Linked DNA regions of Homo sapiens: regions 2, 3, 4, 5, 6 and 7 are each linked to region 1. The links are contacts of gene promoters, found by promoter capture Hi-C in blood cells and fetal thymus (Javierre and others, 2016). All regions are on one chromosome and are shown on one strand. The core of a region is centred on a gene start or on the middle of the fragment in contact, and the rest is flanking DNA. Distances in the headings are between cores, read along the strand shown.

Region 1 (2,700 bases), core at 1-2,500:
TTTTGAAACGAACCCAGCTTTTGACTCCCCTTGCCTCCTAAGCCCCAGTTTCCTCATCAACAGTAGTGGTTCAGAGAGTGTTAGCAACAACACATTTCATCAATTCCTGCAGCAAATTCACTGAGTGCCCACTCTGTGCAGACCCCTGCAGCCCTACCCAGACGCTGCCCTCCTGGCGCTCCCAGGCAAGTGGCGGAGGTTAAATAAATAACTCCTCCACGCTGGCGAGCACCCCAACACAGTAGGGGTGCAATCATTGGGAGCAATATCCTAATGAGGACAGGGAGGCCTGAGAGATGGGCTGGGATTCGTCCAAGGCCCCAAAGCAGGGTGGGGACAGAGCAGGTCCTGGAAGCCTGGAACCCCGGCCTGAGCCAGGCATCCCCTCGGGGCCGGCTTCCACCTGCCAGGGCTGAGCCCTATGCCCTGACGTTTGGGCAGCGGGGAACGGGGGCACAGGGAGGGTGACGGGGTGAAGGAAACAGGCCTGCTGGTGGCTCCGAAGGAAGGTTTGGGCCAGGCCTAGCTGGAATCCCAAAACTCACCTGCCAGCAACCGCGAGCGGGAAGCCCTGCCAGGCTCGCCTGCCCCTGCCAGCGGCCCAGCCACGCTGGGTCCCCCTCTCCATCCCGCACTTTGCTCTTTGCCCGCGACAGGGGTCCCCTGCTCAAATGCCCAGCCTAGCCTCGGTCCAACCTGTCTGGCTGTCCTTCCCTGACACCTCGTTTGTCTACCCTTCTCTGCACGTGTCAGTGGCTCCCCGCTCGCGTCCGTGTGTCATTCCCTACACACGCCTGTGTGTCCTCTTCACACGTCTGACTGGAGCGTCGGCCTCCCGCATTTCCCGGCCTCCTCGCCGCCCTGCCCCGCCTGCTGCTGTGTGGGTGTCGGGCTGGCTGTGCGCAAAGGGGCGCGGCTCGGCCCTCCCCCGCACCCGCGCCCCCCGCCCCGCATCTCGGAGTGACCCGGGCCGCGGCGCCGCGGTGCTGAGGCCCGGGAGCCGCGCCGCCGCCGAGGGGGGCCGGGGCCGGTGACGGTGGCGTGGGCGGCGGCGCGGGGACGACGGGCGGCCGGGCGGGGCTGCGGCAGGGCAGGGCCAGGGCCAGGGCCGGGGCCTGGGAAGCCGCCGCCGCCGCTGCCTCGGCCCGGGATCGCGGGCGGCTGGTCGGCCCGGCTCGCCTGGCCCCGCCTGGCCCGCCCCGCCCCGCCCCTGCGCGCCCAGCAGGCCGAAGCGTAGCGGCGCGCCCCCCGCGACGCCCGAGCCCGAGCGCAGTGGCCTCCGAGCGGGAACCGGACTGGGAGCCGGAGCCGGGGCGGGAACCGGAGCTGGAGCCGAAGCTGGAGCCGGCACTGCGGCGCACGGAGCGGAGCGCTGCAGCCAAGCCGAGTAAGGGGCGTGGGGCTGGGCGGCGCGGGGGAGGGGCGGGCGGGGGGTCCCGGCCCCATTCCCCCGCGCTCTGCGGTGGTACCGGCGAACGACACACCCGGGGGCGCGCCGCGCGGAGCCTCGGTGCGCGGGGCGGGCGGATGCGCGGTCCGGAACGGAACCGCAGCGCGCTCGGAACGGAGCGGGATCCCGGGTCTCCCGCGGACCCTCGACCCCGGGCTGGCCACTGGGATCTGCGCGAGCCGAGGCTGACCCTGATCGCGCCCTCGGGCCTCGGGGAAGGGGAGGTATCCAGGTTTTCTGCCTGACTCGAGTCCCCGACGAGCATCAACCGCATTTGGGGAACCCAAGACAGCCTCCCCAGCAGCTTGCCCTCGGTTTCGGGGACCCCTGAACAACCCAACCAAGAAGGGAAAACTAGGGCGCACTCTCGGTCGGGGTGGGAGAGGAAAGGGGCTGGGGCTTCACGGAGTTTGGAGTTTGAACCCACCCGCACCCCTTTGAGCTAGGAAGTTTGACCCTTCGACGAGCAGGTCGCCTGGGGTATGCCCCTGTCTCCGTGCCTCTGTCTCAGCACCGAGCGTCGGAGAGAGAGCGCGCCCTCCGCACCTTCTCCCACTTTGGGACAGACTTTCCCTTGCGCTGTCAGAGGGACCCGAGGCTGAGTACGAGGCGAGGCGGCAGGCAGCTCAGGCTGGCTGCGCAGCGCTGAGTGGCACCGCCGCCGCTCCCCAGGGGCAGGGCCCACCCCACACCCGGCTGACTCTCGCTGCCCTTCCTCCTTCCCTATCGGGCTCTGCGGTCTGGAGGCTGGAGAGCGGTGAGGACCAGGGACTGCCCTGTCCATCTCGGGCGGGTGCCGGCGTGGGTGGCGGGGCGCAGGCTGGGAAAGGGAGGGCGCAAGTAACTGGTGTGAGAGGCAGGGGTTCAGGGATCCTTGCTCTTGAGCCACGATTTCCGATGAGCCCCTGCCGAGAGCATGCCGCTCTGGACTCACTCCTCAAACATAACTGCTCTGCTGGAACGAGAGACTTCACCACCCTGTGCCTCAGTTTCCTCATCTGAAAGTAAGCAGGAGTCTGTTGTGAGCGGGATGTTTAAGGGATTTGGAACCAGAAGGTGGGCTTGGCTGACTTCCTGGCTGTACAACCTTAAGCAAGACACAAACCTCTCTGAGCCTTAGTTTCCCCATCTGGAACATGGGGAAGGTGAGTTGGGAGGATTAAATGAGATGATGCTGGTGAGGGTATGTAGCCTGGTGCCTGGCACGCAGCCAGTGGCCAATTGTGGTGGGCTACAGGTGTCCTGAGGTG
Region 2 (2,700 bases), core at 25-2,524, 430 kb after region 1:
CTGAATGCTACATTTGCTGATAAGTCTTAGCTAGATGGGCTTGGAACTAGAACTAGGTAAAGCAGAGCCCAGACCCTTTAGTGAGTAAATAAATGAGGGTCCTGCAGAGAAAAATGAGTGGGGAAGAGTAGGGACAGACCCTAAGGGAAGGAGGAGGGAGGGGTAGAGCTGGCTGGGCAGGTATGCCAGATGATGCATCTGGGGTCATAGAGGACCACAGCACCCCCAATCTGCCCTGAGCATTCCTTCTGCTTCCTCAAGATGGGGAAGTTCCGGAGCCTGCTTTTTACCTCGGAGGACGATGAGAGGATCCACATGGTGAACAACTTCCGGCCACCACAGCCACTGAAGGGCCGCGTGGTAAAGGCCTCCTTCCGGGCCTGAGCTGCCCATCTGCCTAGCCGGCCACTAGGGCACCATCTTCTCAAGGGCTTCCATGTCAGCAGACACCAAACCATCTGAGGCTTCCTCCCTGGGGGGTGCTGGGGACCCTCCTTCAGCCAGTTTGCTCCTTGGTCACCCTGGAGGCTTCTGGATGGGACCCTTGAGTCTGGGGCACCCTTCAGCTGCCCTGGGGACAGGAAGGACAGGAGCTAAGCAGGGTCCAAGCCTGGGGCTGCCTCTGCTCTCCAAGACCCAAAGACCCTGGGAACCTCCTCTGGTCTTCCCCACTGGCAGTGGCAGCAGCCCCACCCCGAGCGCACACTGTGATGGAGGAGACTGAGCTCCCTGGGGCGGGCAGCTGACACTACCAGAGAGACTCAAGCAATAATTAGAGGTGGGCAGAGCTGCCCTCTCGGCATTACCTCTTCTGCAGGCTCTGCCATGCACGCACCTCACTGCCAGGCCATTAAAATCAGCACCCAGCATGCTGGAGGTGACGTGGCCTTCTCCCTCCAGCCACCTGCTGCCACGGGCAGGCCCTGGCTATAGCTTATACAGTATCTCCCCTTGTCCCCACCCAGTCACCAAAGCCACCTACATGACAGTCCATCCCTGTTGAATTAATAAATTAATGTATCCATGCAACAAATACCAATTGAGTGCTTGTGCTGTCTCTAGTACCGTCCTAGGCTTTGGGGAGCAATGGTGGTGAGTTAAGCACTATGTGTTGGGAGGGATATGAGTGGTGAGCAGGTGAGGGTTACACAAAGGGCAGGGAAGGGGCTATGGGAGCAGATGAGAGGGGAAGACCATGTCACTCAGCAAAGAAATGCAATTCTGGTCAGGCGTGGTGGCTCACGCTTACAGTCCCAGCACTTTGGGAGGCCAAAGCAGGTGGATCACTTGAGCTCAGGAGTTCGAGAGCAGCCTGGCCAACTGCTGAAACCCCGTCTCTACTAAAATTACAAAAATTAGCTGGGTGATAGTGGTGTGCACCTGTAATCCCAGCTGCTCAGGAGCCTGAGGCAGGAGAATCGCTTGAACCCAGGAGGCAGAGGTTGCAGTGAGCTGAGGTCGCACCACTGTACCCCAGGCTGGGCGACAGAGCGAGGCCCTCTCAAACAGAAAGAAAGGAAGAAATGAAATTCCAACCAGTATTCCAAATCAGATAGAAGGGAACAGCATGTTTGAGGCCAAGGGAAGGGCAAGTGTGCAGGCTCAGAGGTGAGAGAGAGCCCAGTGTGGTTGTGGGGCTCAAAAGGCTCAAAGGGGCTAGAGCCCTGGGGGAAACCTGGGACCCCCTCCCCAGGCTGACGGGGAGCTACCAAGGGCTTATAGTAGAGGAGGGGCAGGGCCAGGCCTGCAAATGGGGAACATCCCTGAGGAATGCGGATGGGCAGGCAGGAATGGTGGCAGGGAGCAAGGGGTGGCCTGTGTCCAGGCGGGAGGGGACAGGGTGGAGGGAGGTGGGAGACAGAGGGCTGGATGAGAGAGATTTAGGAGGTGGTGCCCAAAAGACAGTGTTTGGCTGTTCAGGATAGAGAGGAGACCAGGGCATATCCCTGAGCAGAAAGTGGAGCCTTCACTTGCTCTGGGAACCCTACAGGGAGCTGGCCACATTGGACACGCAGCATTGTGGGGTCCTGGAAGGAAAATCTAAGGGGGCATGTGCCTTCAGGCCCAGGCCCTGCACACGCACAACCCCAAGAGGGGGTTTTATTTTTATTTTTATTTAATTTTACTTATTTATTTATTTATTTATTTATTTATTTATTTATTTATTTATTTTTGAGACGGAGTCTTGCTCTGTAGCCCAGGCTGAAGTGAGTGGCATGATCTCAGCTCACTGCAACCTCCGCCTCCCAGGTTCAAGCAATTCTCCTGCCTCAGCCTCCCGAGTAGCTGGGATTACAGGTGCGCACCACCATGCCCGGCCAATTTTTGTATTTTTAGTAGAGATGGGGTTTCACCATGTTGGTCAAGCTGGTCTCGAATTCCTGACCCCAAGTAATCCACCCACCTGGGCCTCCTAAAGTGCTGGGATTACAGGTGTGAGCCACCGTGCCTGGCCCTAGAGTGCTTTTTTTTAAATGTGCATCCTCACCCTAGTCCCTAGTCCAAGTCCAAAAAAGTGCCCAAGGGCAAGTTCACAGTTGGGCTTAGAGACCAAGTGATGATTGTGACCCAGATGAGACAGCGGCAGGAGCCGGAGACAGACACTGGGGGTGCTGAGGAGTGAGGGGAGGTGAGAAACTGGGACCTCACATGCATAAGTTTAGTTGTGAAGGGGGAGAAAGGGACAGTGGAGGGGGCTGC
Region 3 (2,700 bases), core at 104-2,603, 410 kb after region 1:
TACTAAAAATACAAAAAATTAGCTGGGCGCAGTGGTGGTCGCCTCTAGTCCCAGCTACTCGGGAGGCTGAGGCAGGAGAATGGCGTGAACCAGGAAGGTGGAGCTTGCAGTGAGCCGAGATCCCGCCACTGCACTCCAGCCTGGGCGACAGAGTGAGACTCCGTCTCAAAAAAAAAAAAAAAAAAAAAAAGAAAGGCAAATTCTTGGCTGGGTACAGTGGTTCATGACTGTAATTCCAGCACTTTGGGAGGCCAAGGCAGGAGGATTCCTTGAGGCCAGGAGTTTGAGACTAGCCTGAGCAACATAGCAAGACCCTGTCTCTACAAAAAGAAAAAAAAAAATTAAAAATTAGCCAGGCATGGTGGTGTATGCCTGTAGTACTAGCTACCTGGAAGGCTAAGGTGGGAGGATCACTTGAGCCCAGGAGTTTGTGGTTGCAGTGAGCTATGATCTCGCCACTGCACTCCAACCTGGGCAACAGAGTGAGACATTCCTCTCTTAAAAAAAATTAAGTATTAAAAAAAAAAAAAGAAAGCCAGGTAAGGTGGTTCACTCCGGTAATCCCAACACTTAGGAGGCTAAGGCAGGAGGATTGCTTGAGCCCAGGAGCTCGAAACCAGGCTGGGTGACATGGCGAAACCTTGTCTCTGAAAAAAAAAGAAACACAAATTCTTGGACCTTATCCATACTTGCTGAATCAGAAACTGTAGAGTGAGGCCCAGGAAACTGTTTTAACAAATCATCCAGGTGATTCTGATACATGCTTGATCCTACCCTGGCTTTCTGAGCACTTACTATGATGCCAGGCAGGCCCCTGACATGCATCACCTCGTGAGCTCACAACCACCCAATGCAACAGATATTGCTGCTAACCCCGTTTTACAGACAGAGGGCAGATGTTTGGGGAGAAGAGTGAAGTAACAAAGATTAAGAGGTGGTGCAGGGGTTAGAAACAAATACCCCAGTCTGGTGCGGTGGCTCACACCTGTAATCACACCTGTAGTCCCACACCTGCAGTATTTTGGGAGGCCAAGGCAGGAGGATCACTTGAGGCCAGGAGTTAGAGACCAGCCTGGGCAACATAACAAGACCCCGTCTCTACAAAAACTAAAGAATGTGGCCGGGTGCTGTGGCTCACACCTATAATCCAAGCACTTTGGGAGGCCGAGGTGAGCAGATCATGAGGTCAGGAGTTCAAGACCAGCCTGGCCAATATGGTGAAACCTTGTCTCTATTAAAAATATAAAAATTTGCCTGGCGTGGTCGTGGGCGCCTATAATCCCAGCTACTCAGGAGGCTGAGGCAGGAGAAACGCTTGAAACCGGAAGGCAGAGGTTGCAGTGAGCCGAGATTGCGCCACTGCACTCCAGCATGGGTGAAAGAGCGAAACTCCATCTCAAACAAACAAACAAACAAAATTAGCCAGGCATAGTGGCATACCTGTAGTCCCAGCTACTTGGTGGGAGGATCACTTGAGCCCAGGAGTTGGAGGCTGCAGTGAGCTATGACTGCACCACTGTACTCTAGTCTGGGTGACAGAGTGAGACCTTGTCTCAAACAAAAAGAAATAAATACCCCCAACAGATCTGACCAGACCCCAGTGCAGATCTGTTATTTTATCCAGTCCAGTTGATCTCAACGAGGGCAGACTGGACCTTTGGGCTGTCAGGAAGTTTGGGGCTAGCTCTGTGCTTACAGAGATTATAGTCTGTGGGAGACCAGCCAGGAAGAAGTCATAACCCAGGACATCCTCCCAGGCCACTAGCCCTCTCTGCCTGTCCTTGCACATCCTATCCCTTCTCACCCTGGTCCTCATTGGCTGATCTCTTGCCTCTCTCCCCAACCCCATAAGCTCCTTGAGGCAGCTATAAGTCTATAATGTTCACAGTTGTATCACCTGTGCCTGGCCCAGCAGTTGACATCTAATAAATCTTCAATAAATGTTTATTGAATTAAAGAATAAATTTCTGAAACTATTGCCATCATACTTTGTACATTTTAAAATATGTTCCTAGCAATGTATATATCATTTGATTTGGTAATTCTACCTCTATCAATTTATTCCAAGGAAATCATCAGACACATATAAGATGTATAAGTAAGGAGGCCAGGTACATTGGTTCATGCCTGTAATCCCAGTCCTTTGGGAGACTGAGGTGGAAGTATTGCTCGAGGCCAGGAATTTGAGACAGACCAGCCTGAGCAACACAGTGAGACCCCACTGTGTGTTTTTTTTTTTTTTTTTGAGACGGAGTTTCGCTCTGTTGCCCAGGTTGGAGTGCAGTTGCACGATCTTGGCTCACTGCGACCTCCACCTCCCGGTTCATGCCATTCTCCTGCCTCAGCCTCCTGAGTAGCTGGGACTACAGGTACCCGCCACCACGCCTGGCTAATTTTTTTTGTATTTTTAGTAGAGACGGGGTTTCACCGTGTTAGCCAGGATGGTCTCAATCTCCTGACCTTGAGATCCACCCGCCACAGCCTCCCAAAGTGCTGGGATTACAGGCGTGAGCCACCGCGCCCGGCCGACCCCATCTCTTAAAAAAAAAATCATACTGGGTCTCAAAAAAAAATACTAAAGATGTGCAAGTAAGGATGTTCACTGCAGTGATATTTGCCACACTGAAAACTAGAAATAACAAAATCACAGCAGTGTGTGAATGAATATTATGAGGCAAGTTCTCCAAGGCCGATCAAGCA
Region 4 (2,700 bases), core at 40-2,539, 460 kb after region 1:
TCTTGCTCTGTTGCCCAGGCTGGAGTGCAGTGGCAGGAGCACAGCTCATTGCAGTCTTGACCTCCAGGGCTTAAGCAATCCTCTCACCTCAGCCTTACAAGTGAATGGGGCTATAGGTGTGCGCCACCATGCCCAACTAATTTGTAAAAAAATTTTTTGTAGAAACCAGGTCTCCTTATGTTGCCCAGGCTGGTCTTGGAACTCCTAGGCTCAAGTGATCCTCCCGCCTCAGCCTTTGGAGTGGTTACAGGTATGAGCCACTATGCCCGAAGCAGATTATTTATTTATTTATTTATTTTTGAGACGGAGTTTCGCTCTCGCCCAGGCTGGAGTGCAGTGGTGCAATCTTGGCTCACTGCAAACTCTGCCTCCTGGGTTCACGCCATTCTCCTGCCTCAGCCTCCTGAGTAGCTGGGACTACAGGCGCCCATCACTGCACCCAGCTAAATTTTTGTATTTTTAGTAGAGACGGGGTTTCACTGTGTTAGCCAGGATGGTCTCGATCTCCTGAACTCGTGATCAGCCCACCTCGGCCTCCCAAAGTGCTGGGATTACAGGCGTGAGCCACCGCGTCAGGCCTGTTTTTGTTTTCTTTGAGACAGGGTCTCACTCCCTCTCTAGTGAGGCCCAGGCTAGACTGCAGTGGCACAATCACTGCTTTCTGCAGCCTCAACTTACCAGGCTCAGATGATTCTCCTACCTCAGCCTCCCAAGTAGCTGTGACTATAGATACACACCACCATGCCTGGCAATTTTTTTATTTTTTTTATTTTTTTGGAGAGACAGGGTTTCACCATGTTGCCCAGGCTAGTCTCGAACTCCTGGGCTCAAGCTATCCACCCACCTTGGCCTCCCAAAGTGCTAGGATTACAGGCATGAGCCACCAGGCCTGGCCCCCGAAGCAGATATTTAAATGAACACTTATAGTCTGCTGGTGAGAGTGAGTTTAGTGTATTTTAAATAGTTTATTCTAAGTCATTTTTGTTCAGGATATTAGCAAATGTTTTCAGAAGTCAGTATTTTTAAGAAATTAAATTTGTGGCTGGGTGCTTTGGCTCACGCCTGTAATCCCAGCACTTTGGGAGGCCGAGGCAGGTGGATCACAAGGTCAGGAGATCGAGACCATCCTGGCTAACATGGTGAAACCCTGTCTCTACTAAACATACAAAAAATTGGCCAGGTGTGGTGGCGGGCGCCTGTAGTCCCAGCTACTCCAGAGTCTGAGGTAGGAGAATGGCATGAACCTGGGAGGCGGAGCTTGCAGTGAGCAGAGATCACACCACTGCACTCCAGCCTGGGCGGCAGAGCGAGACTACGTCTCAAAAAAAAAAAAAAAAAAAAGAAATTAAATTTGAAACTTCAACTTTTTAATTTTTAGGTTTAAAAATATCCTTTTTTGCTGAAGGAACACATTTGCTGGTATAGTTTCAGAATGTCAAGTACTGTGTCCTACTGGATCTTAAATTCTACAAGGAACAGCATTGCCACATTGCAAGGGGGTAGACGCTTATACTCCAGGTATGTCTCAAATAGGAATAAATTAAAATGGAGGCTCTTTTCCCGGGTGCCACCCACCCTAAACAGTTCCCCATGTGGTGGCTTTACTCTGTGCAAAGCCTACAGACACACATCAACAGAGGAAGATGATTTTCACTTGCAACTCAGCCCTGAGCAGATAAATGAAGTGCTTCGAGCTGGCGAGACAACCCACAAGATTCTTGACCTTGAAAGCAGAGTCCCAAATTCAGTGTTGCGGTTTGAGAGCAACCAGCTGGCTGCCAATTCCCCAGTGGAGGACCGGCGAGGTGTAGCCTCCTGCCTGCAAACCAATGGACTGATGTTTGGCATCTTCGATGGACATGGTGGTCATGCATGTGCCCAAGCAGTGAGCGAGAGGCTCTTCTACTATGTGGCAGTGTCCCTGATGTCCCACCAGACCCTGGAGCACATGGAGGGAGCTATGGAAAGCATGAAACCCTTGCTGCCCATCCTGCATTGGCTCAAGCACCCAGGGGACAGTATCTACAAGGATGTCACATCTGTGCATCTTGACCACCTCCGTGTCTATTGGCAGGAACTGCTTGATTTGCACATGGAAATGGGACTAAGCATTGAAGAAGCATTAATGTACTCCTTCCAGAGACTGGATTCTGACATCTCGCTGGAAATCCAGGCCCCCCTGGAAGATGAGGTGACAAGGAACCTGTCACTCCAGGTTGCTTTCTCTGGGGCAACAGCTTGCATGGCCCATGTTGATGGAATTCACTTGCACGTGGCAAATGCTGGTGACTGCCGAGCCATCCTTGGTGTCCAAGAGGACAATGGCATGTGGTCTTGTCTGCCCCTTACACGTGACCACAATGCCTGGAACCAGGCCGAGCTGTCCCGGCTAAAGAGGGAGCACCCTGAGTCAGAGGACAGGACGATCATCATGGAGGACAGGCTACTGGGCGTCCTCATCCCCTGCAGGGCCTTTGGGGATGTTCAGCTGAAGTGGAGTAAAGAGTTGCAGCGCAGCATTCTGGAGAGGGGCTTCAATACCGAGGCCCTCAACATTTACCAGTTCACACCCCCACACTACTACACTCCACCCTACCTGACTGCTGAGCCTGAGGTCACATACCACAGGCTGAGGCCCCAGGATAAGTTCCTTGTGCTGGCCTCAGATGGCCTGTGGGACATGCTGAGCAATGAGGACGT
Region 5 (2,700 bases), core at 146-2,645, 340 kb after region 1:
TCCAAAGGGAACAAAGTAAATCATACATGTAGAACTATTATAAATTCTAGTTAATTACAATAAGCGTGGTGGCTCATGTCTGTAACACCAGCACTTTGAGAGGCTGAGGCAGGCAGATCATTTGAGGTCAGGAGTTCAAGATCAGTTTGGCCAACATGGTAAAACCTGCTCTACGAAAAAATACAAAAAAAAAAAAAAAATTAGCCAGGTGTGGTAGTGGGCACCTGTAATCCCAGCTACTTGGGAGGCTGAGGCACAAGAATTACTTGAACCTGGGAGGTGGAGAGTGCAGTGAGCCAAGATCGCGCCACTGCACTCCAGCCTGGGTGACAGAGTAAGACTCTGTATCAAAAAAAAAAAAAAATTCTAGTTAATATCATAAAAGGCTTTGACTGTGAAACAACTGCAATTAAAAAAATACTTACCTGAGCACCTATACGTCAACATTTCGGAACAACTGGGAGTTGCTAGAAAACTGACTACTTCTTTATTTATTATATCTGAACATAATGTAAATGGATCTGAAAAAAATTGCAAAATGAAGGATTTTTGGATTAATGAAAAGAATCAGATATTTTCAGGATTTATTAAATATCAAGCTTTTCATAAACCTTAGCCTAGTACTATGCCTCCAGTCATGCTGGTGAATAAACAGAAAGATTCTGGATCTTAATGGAAGGCATTTACAACAGAAAGAGTCAAAGGTGTGGCTTATGCTTTAGAGGGCCAATATAGCAATGGACTTTTTTTTTTTTTGAGATGGAGTCTCACTCTGTCGTCCAGGCTGGAGTGCAGTGGCATGATCTCGGCTCACTGCAACCTCCGCCTCCTGGGTTGAAGCAGTTCTCCTGCGTCAGCCTCCAGAGTAGCTGGGATTACAGGTGCCCACCACCGCACCTGGCTAATTTTTGTATTTTTAGTAGAGACAGGGTTTCACCATGTTGGCCAGACTGGTCTTGAACTCCTGACCTCAGCTGATCTGCCCACCTAGGCCTCCCAAAGTGCTGGGATTACAGGCGTGAGCCACCGCACCCAGTCAATGTGCATTTTTAGCTATATTGGTTACCTAAATATCTGTTTTATTAAAAAACCAAAGAAACATTTTTAATCATACCTGTTACTGGTAACTGCTGCTTTATATTTTTGGCAATGTGAACTGGGTGTTTAAAAACATGGTCACTAAAAGAAAATAGACACCAGATTACTAAAAGTAAACATACTGTTTGGTGTGCGGACCAATGTTTCTGTAAGCAGTGTTGTGATTTTCGGTGTTTGGTGGGCAAAAGCAACCTGGAATCACGATCTACCACAATCTACCAAATTCTGCCAACGTAGGGCCTGCAACAATTACAGCCGTGTTTCTAGAGCTCGAGTCAAACAAGACTCCAGAGGGCAATAGTATTGATGCCAGAAGAAACATGGAAGAAAAAGATTATAAAAAGAAGGAAGTAGGAGAGATGAAGGCAAAAAGGAGAGAACAAAATCAGTGGGAGCAAAAATGAACATGGGTGCAGGATGGCAAAGTGCTAACAACAATCATTTAAAGACCTGAATTTAAAAATCCTTCCTAACCCCCAAAACATTTGTATGTTTGAACCCTGTAGTCCTTGATGAATAAATACAAGTTTTGATTATACTGTCACAATGATTAACAGGCAGTACAGAAAAAGGCAAGAACTGTAGATCAGATAGCAGGCATAGCAGTAGCTTTATAGTTATAGCTATCTGTCCATGTACGTATATTTGTAGGAGCTACTACATAGGAGAAAAAAAGCATTTCAAAGAGATGAAAATATTAATAAGTTGGCTGAGGTAGAAATATGGCTAACCCTAGCCGGGTGCGGTGGTTCACGCCTGTAATCCCAGCATTTTAGGAGGCTGAGGCGGGCAGATCACCTGAGGTCGCGAGTTCAAGGCCAGCCTGACCAACATGGAGAAACTCCATCTCTACTAAAAATACAAAAAATTAGCCGGGCGTGGTGGCACATGCGTGTAATCCCAGCTACTCGGGAGGCTGAGGTAGGAGAATCACTTGAACCCGGGAAGTGGAGGTTGCGGTGAGCCGAGATCATGCCATTGCACTCCAGCCTGGGCAACAAGAGCGAAACTTTCTCAAAAAAAAAAAGAAAAAGAAAAAGAAAAAAGAAAAAGAAATATGGCTAACTCTATAGGAGAAAGAAGGGTATGGGTGGAAAGCTTGGGATGGAGGTCAAGAAGGCTGGCCCAGGACCATATCTTACTGCTTCCCAATTCCCATACCTGAGCAATCAAGTTAAAATTAACATCAAGAATGGTCTTGAAACAGATAAAAGGGGTGGTATTGGTGTAACCCTTCTTCCTGGTACTTAGTTTACCCTTCAACCTGCCCGAAATGTAGCAGCATCCTCTTCATTTTTCCCAAGTACAGTAACCAACAGAAGAGCACAACCCAATAAAGGGTTTAAGAAAAGCTACAATCCCAGGTCTAGCCCCACAAACTAACTGCAAGGGAAAAAGACTATGTTCTAGAGACAAAGTGCAGGGAACAAACAAAAGGGCAAACCCAAACCAAATTTTCTTCACATCCTATTCCCTTTATCACATTAAATTTAAAAACAGTTTTTGCTATACTGCTGATTATCAATGCACGCATTGTTACTTCAAGTAAAGGGTTTCCGTTTAGGTTTTATTTTCTGAGTATCCTTTCTAAAATTCAAATCT
Region 6 (2,700 bases), core at 17-2,516, 380 kb after region 1:
ATCTCCATTTATAGAAGAGAAAACTAAAGCACAGAGAGATTAAGTTACTTAGCTCATAAGTGATGCTGTATGACTTCCAAAGCTAGGTCATAAAAAGCCCTGTACCTTCCACTTGGGTTTTTTGGAATGTTAACTGCAGAAGCCAACTGACATGCCAAAAGGAAGTCCAAGCTAGCCACGTGAAGAGATACCTGACCAGCCGCCAGCTATTCCCACTGTTCTGACTAAGGTGCTAGTTACATGAGTAAAAATGTCTTCTTGCATGTCTAACTCAGTCAGTCAAGCCTTCAGAATGACTCCACCCCCAGGCTCAAGCAACTGCATGCCTCCCCAAGGAGAACTGCCTGAGACCAGGCAACCCACAAAATCACGACACTATTTATTGTTTTAAACCACTAAGTTTTGAAGTGGTTTGTTATGCAACAGATAACTGAAATAAATACTAATCAAATAATACAAATAAAGCAATACATATTTGGTGTTTATTCTTTTTTTTTCTTCTAGTAAGCTTGCTTGTTAGGACTATAAACTCTGGGCAGCGCAGTGGCTCATGCGTGTAATCCCTGCACTTTGGGAGGCCAACACAGGAGGATCACTTGAGGTCAGGAGTTCGAGACCAGCCTGGCCAACACGGAGAAACCCTGTTTCTACTAAAAATACAAAAATTAGCTGGGCGAGGTGGCGGGCGCCTATAGTCCCAGCTACTCGGGAGGCTGAGGCAGGAAAACTGCTTAAACCCAGGAGGCGGAGGTTGCAGTGAGCTGAGATCACGCCACTGCACTCCAGCCTGGGCGACAGAGCGAGACTCCGTCTCAAAAGAAAAAAAAAAAAGACTATAAACTCTGGAGACACACTGTATCAGATGGAGCAGCAGGTTTTATGATACCCCTAGAATGTGTTGCTATGCAATAATCCTGCACAATTAAAATTATCATCCCAAAGAAAAATATTCTGAGCAACCTCAGATCTTTGAGATTATGCCAATTCTCCAATGACTACATTTGCTGAAGATAAAAAGTAGATAACTAAACAAAGAAATTCCTACATCTTCAGAGTTATTGAGTTCAGAAATTAGTAGCATACTTTTTTTTTTTTTTGAGACAGTCTCACCACAGTCACCCAGGCTGGAGTTTAGTGGCACAATCACAACTCACTGTAGCCCCAACTTCCCAGGCTCAGGTGATCCTCCCGAGTAGCTGAGTCTACAAGTGCACACCACCATGTCTGGCTAATTTTTTGTATCTTCAGTAGAGATGGGGTTCCACCATGTTGCCCACGCTGGTCTCCAACTCCTGGGCTCAAGCAATCTGCCTGAATCAGTCTCCCAAAGTGCTGGCATTACAGACGTGAGCCACCGTACTATGCCTGGCCAGCATATTTCTTGTGGCTTTCCTATTCCACTAAATTAAACTCAGTGTGAGTCTTAGTAACAAACTATGGAAAATGACAGAAAAAAGTTTTCTTCTATACATATTCAACCAACATCCCCCTGTAATAGTTTAGAATCGAACACTATTTTGCAAATAGTTAAACTTAAAAAACAAAAGGTGGTTCTTCACTGGGGAACGTTTGGGGTGTAATCTGTTTACAATGTGAAATTCAAGCAACACTATTATAAATACCCTGAGAACACTTTCAATTTAAATGTTTTATTGAAGATCTTATTATATCTGGTAATTCAATTGCTATTCTTACCTGGATATCTACCCTGTTGTTTATGAAATCTATCAACAGCCCGTAACATTAAGTACAACACTATTTCATTATCTGGATTGTCCATGCTAGAAACTGAAAGGAAAAAAAATTTCAGTTTAATTTGGTTAATTTGCAATGTAACAAACAATGAAGGGCTGAATTTACTATATACTTGAGTTTCAGGACTATTAACTGGAGTCACACAATCTCTACTGAAGTAGTAACATACTGACTTTAACTCATACATATCACACAATGGACTCAGTGACCTAAATATGACTTTATGCATACATTAAGTTTCATATAATATATAAATTATAATTACCTAGATAAGCTTAGAATAAAATTAGAATATGTTTACGTTATCTTTAATATCATCACCATATACTCAACACTATTATACACAAAATATTTATATCTTTTAAATTAATTAAAATTAACCCAGAATCAGAAGGCTATTATACTTACTAATTTCATCCTTGTTAATTGTATCCAAACCATATTCTTCAGCTAAGGATCGACATCTTACCACTCGAAGAAATGCAGAATTGCTGCCTGAACAGAGGAAAGATATTCTGGAAGTAATGACTGTGACTGGTGAATATTATGAATCACAGGTGACTTTAAGAACAGAGAATTATGTGTATACCCTTCTCAGACATGAGAATGTGAAGAAATGTTTTCTCCTTGGTTCTAATAGCAGAGAAAGCACTAGAACATGAATCACCTTAAATTTATATCCCTGGCACTACAACCAGTTCAGAAGCAAGTAAGGTGATGGCCTCTCTGAACCTCAGTTTTCAAGTGTAAAATGGGGATGATACTGTTTACCTTTGAGAATTGTTCTACAGATTAAATGTGACATCTGTATAAAGTGCATCTCTAGCACAATGCCTGATATGGCTCTAAAAATAATAGTTTTCATCATTATTATGGATAAGTAGTCCTAAAGGAGAGAGGTTTATGAATTGTACTCTTGATATATGTAATGACTTTAAGCTTTGT
Region 7 (2,700 bases), core at 184-2,683, 360 kb after region 1:
ATTACAGGTGTGAGCTACCACACCCAGCCAGAAGCTAGTATAATTGACTTGAGACCTTTCTTCTTTTCTTATACAAGCCTTAATACTATAAATTTCCCTCTAAACACTGTTTCGCAGCATCCCACAGATTTCTTTTAATTTTTAATTTTTTTTTTTTTTTTTTTTGAAACGGAGTCTCATTCTGTCACCCAGGCTGGAGTGCAGTGGTGTGATCTCAGCCTCTGCAGGTTCAAGAGATTCTCCTGCCTCCGCCTCCTGAGTAGCTAGGATTACAGGTGCCCGGCTAATTTTTGTATTTTCAGTAGAGACAAGGTTTCACATGTTGGTCAGGCTGGTCTCAAACTCCTGACCTCAAGCGATCCACCTGCCTCAGCCTCCCAAAGTGCTGGGATTACAGGTGTGACCCACTGCGTCTGGCTTTTTTTTTTTTTTTTTTGAGACAGTCTCTTTCTGTTGCCCAGGATGGAGTGCAATGGTGTGATCTTGGCTCACTGCAACTTCCGTCTCCTGGGCTCACGCGATTCTCCTGCCTCAGCCTCCCAAGTAGCTCGGATTATAGGTGTCTGCCACCATGCCCAGCTAATTGTTGCCAACATGCCCAGCTAATTTCTGTATTTTTAGTAGAGATGGGGTTTTACCATGTTGGTCAGGCTGGTCTTGAACTCCTGACCTCAAGTGATCCGCCTGCCTCAGTCTTCCAAAGTGCTGGGATTATAGGCGTGAGCCACCATGCCTGGCCTAATGTTGTATTTTCATTATCATTCAGTTAGAAACATTTTATAATTTTCCTTATGATTTATGCATTGACTCACAGATTTTAGTACTAAGTTGTTTAATTACCAGATATTTGGGGCTTTTCTAGATGTTTTGTTTTTATTCATTTCTAATTTAATTACCTTGTGATCAGAGAACACACTCTATGGGTTTTTAGTCTTGCTATCTGGTTTCTCCGTTTTATGAGAGTATCTGGGGAGATTAAAAAAATGATGCTGCTACCACCATCTTCCCAATATCCTTCTAAAAATATCTACTTTTAAGATTTTCTTATCTTTAAGAGTCTAAATACATCCAAAATAACCCAAATTACAAGAATTCAATTGATTCAATAATAAATTCAATCGTTTTTATTATGCTTTGAAATATGTTTCTTCAACTATGACCTAGAAAATAACGAACACTTACTGTTATTTGCAAGAGTGAGTCCAATAAATGAGCAAATAGGGCGAATTATCTCAGGTGTCGTGCAATTTTTTAGCCATTCATTAGCATGTGGAAAAAGGGAACAGCAAAACATTTGATTCTCATCTGAAAGAAGACAAAGTCAATCATGATTTAATATGACAATTGGAAAATATCAGTTTTCATTTGTTTTTATCTTTATTTTTATATTTAAACATGACAGATAATTACCATTTTGAGGATTGTTGACACAGACACACAGAGTACTACACACTGAAGACCACAACTGATAACTCTGGAAAACATTTTTATCTGACAAATCCAACTCATGTTTTGAAATAACTGTCCTATTAGGTTAAAAAGAAAAGAAAGTAAATTAATACAAATGTGTTAAGGTCCTAAGTAATGAATAATTAACAAAAAGAAATTTGTATTTGTTTACCTGAATAACCGTGACAGAACTGTAATACAACCTGTTTCTCTCACAAGTGTTTGTCCGGTCCCTTAAAAAAATAGCCATATAAAAATATGAGTTTTATTTACAAATAGTCTTGCAGAAATGAAGAACAGTTAAGTTTTATTTTAATAAATAACTTTTAAACAACTTTAAAGTATTACAAAGTATAACATAGAATTACGGTGGATAAAAATCTGCAATCAAGATTATTATGAAAAATATGTCACTACTGCTTAGAGACTAATTGTATTCAAATTTCCTCTAAAAATTACAAAACTCTTACTTTGCATCATGGTTCTGTGTTGCAGTATCAAGATAAGTTCCAAAATGGAAAAATAAATAAATTCAACCTTTTCTAGTTTTTCCAAAATAAAACAAAATCTAGAAACATTTTTTTTAAGTGCACGCCTGGCAAGAAGGCGCCTCCTCAGGCCTCTCTGGCAAGAGGCTTAGCTGAATTACCTGAGCCTGCTCAGACTACCATTGTGCCTGGGTCTGTGATCCTCCCCATGGAAACAATAATAGCAGAGGACTAGAGGGTGAGAGACCAGCCACTGCTAGCAGAAGAAGGTGAGGCTTGACTTCTCCCCTTCAAAGGATACAACCTGATGCCTCGCTTCCCTGAGGCTGCCCTACCCCCACCCAACACCCTGGGGGTTTGGGCCTTGAGCCCTACAACCACCCAGACTTCCCCCTCTATTGATGCCCACATTTCCCCTCTAGCAGGAAGGGTGGCATGAGAGAGTCTGCTGGTACTGAATATGGTCGTGCTGGGACCTGGGTGACATGGGGAAGGGGTTACACAGCCTTGGCCTCCCCAAGTGCTGGGGTTACAGATGTGACCTGCTGTGCCTACCTAGAAGCATTTCTTTTTTTTGAGGCAGAGTCTCGCTCTGTCACTCAGGCTGGAGTACAGTGGCTTGATCACAGCTCATTGCAGCCTCAACCTCCAGAGCTCACTCAATTCTCCCACCTCAGCCTCCCAAGTAGCTGGTAGTACAGGTGTGTGCCACCACACCCAGTTAATTTTTCTTTTTCTTTTTCTTTTTTTTTTTTTTTTATTT

What was found. The method cuts DNA at HindIII sites, captures the fragments that hold promoters and counts their contacts. A CHiCAGO score of 5 or more calls a contact.
Region 2: a contact is called between a fragment that was not itself captured here and the fragment with the promoter of BEAN1 in region 1, in 13 of 17 cell types (total B cells, naive B cells, activated CD4 T cells and 10 more). The highest score is 16.3, in total B cells.
Region 3: a fragment that was not itself captured here is called in contact with the fragment with the promoter of BEAN1 in region 1 in 4 of 17 cell types (total B cells, M0 macrophages, naive CD8 T cells and 1 more); the score reaches 7.3 in total B cells.
Region 4: a contact is called between a fragment that was not itself captured here and the fragment with the promoter of BEAN1 in region 1, in 3 of 17 cell types (total B cells, total CD8 T cells and non-activated CD4 T cells). The highest score is 8.1, in total B cells.
Region 5: a contact is called between a fragment that was not itself captured here and the fragment with the promoter of BEAN1 in region 1, in 10 of 17 cell types (total CD8 T cells, total B cells, neutrophils and 7 more). The highest score is 7.9, in total CD8 T cells.
Region 6: a fragment that was not itself captured here is called in contact with the fragment with the promoter of BEAN1 in region 1 in 4 of 17 cell types (total B cells, non-activated CD4 T cells, naive B cells and 1 more); the score reaches 7.5 in total B cells.
Region 7: a fragment that was not itself captured here is called in contact with the fragment with the promoter of BEAN1 in region 1 in 2 of 17 cell types (total CD4 T cells and naive B cells); the score reaches 6.3 in total CD4 T cells.

Annotation. Positions count from the first base shown.
Region 1 is chr16:66,426,045-66,428,744 of GRCh38, forward strand. It overlaps BEAN1 (brain expressed associated with NEDD4 1), which reads left to right and starts at 1,251. Exons shown (of 5, transcript NM_001178020.3): 1 at 1,251-1,387. RefSeq lists an enhancer at 2,079-2,679. The HindIII fragment of the contact is 13,321 bases long and covers 1-2,700 here.
Region 2 is chr16:66,853,115-66,855,814 of GRCh38, forward strand. It overlaps CA7 (carbonic anhydrase 7), which reads left to right. Exons shown (of 7, transcript NM_005182.3): 7 at 262-1,033. The coding sequence ends at 384. LOC124903699 (a long non-coding RNA gene) reads right to left here. Exons shown (of 4, transcript XR_007065088.1): 3 at 291-571. Among named protein-coding and RNA genes, the nearest start is that of CA7, 10 kb to the left of the region's middle. The HindIII fragment of the contact is 6,670 bases long and covers 1-2,700 here.
Region 3 is chr16:66,834,223-66,836,922 of GRCh38, forward strand. No RefSeq gene overlaps it. Among named protein-coding and RNA genes, the nearest start is that of NAE1, 4.6 kb to the left of the region's middle. The HindIII fragment of the contact is 3,991 bases long and covers 1-2,700 here.
Region 4 is chr16:66,882,853-66,885,552 of GRCh38, forward strand. It overlaps PDP2 (pyruvate dehydrogenase phosphatase catalytic subunit 2), which reads left to right. Exons shown (of 2, transcript NM_020786.4): 2 at 1,379-2,700. The coding sequence starts at 1,433. Among named protein-coding and RNA genes, the nearest start is that of PDP2, 3.7 kb to the left of the region's middle. The HindIII fragment of the contact is 5,190 bases long and covers 1-2,700 here.
Region 5 is chr16:66,766,990-66,769,689 of GRCh38, forward strand. It overlaps TERB1 (telomere repeat binding bouquet formation protein 1), which reads right to left. Exons shown (of 19, transcript NM_001136505.2): 15 at 1,115-1,179; 16 at 426-521. Among named protein-coding and RNA genes, the nearest start is that of DYNC1LI2-DT, 17 kb to the left of the region's middle. The HindIII fragment of the contact is 1,597 bases long and covers 598-2,194 here.
Region 6 is chr16:66,806,826-66,809,525 of GRCh38, forward strand. It overlaps NAE1 (NEDD8 activating enzyme E1 subunit 1), which reads right to left. Exons shown (of 20, transcript NM_003905.4): 16 at 2,164-2,250; 17 at 1,696-1,788. Among named protein-coding and RNA genes, the nearest start is that of TERB1, 6.6 kb to the left of the region's middle. The HindIII fragment of the contact is 1,521 bases long and covers 507-2,027 here.
Region 7 is chr16:66,784,604-66,787,303 of GRCh38, forward strand. It overlaps TERB1 (telomere repeat binding bouquet formation protein 1), which reads right to left. Exons shown (of 19, transcript NM_001136505.2): 7 at 1,622-1,682; 8 at 1,411-1,526; 9 at 1,183-1,305. Among named protein-coding and RNA genes, the nearest start is that of TERB1, 16 kb to the right of the region's middle. The HindIII fragment of the contact is 9,811 bases long and covers 1-2,700 here.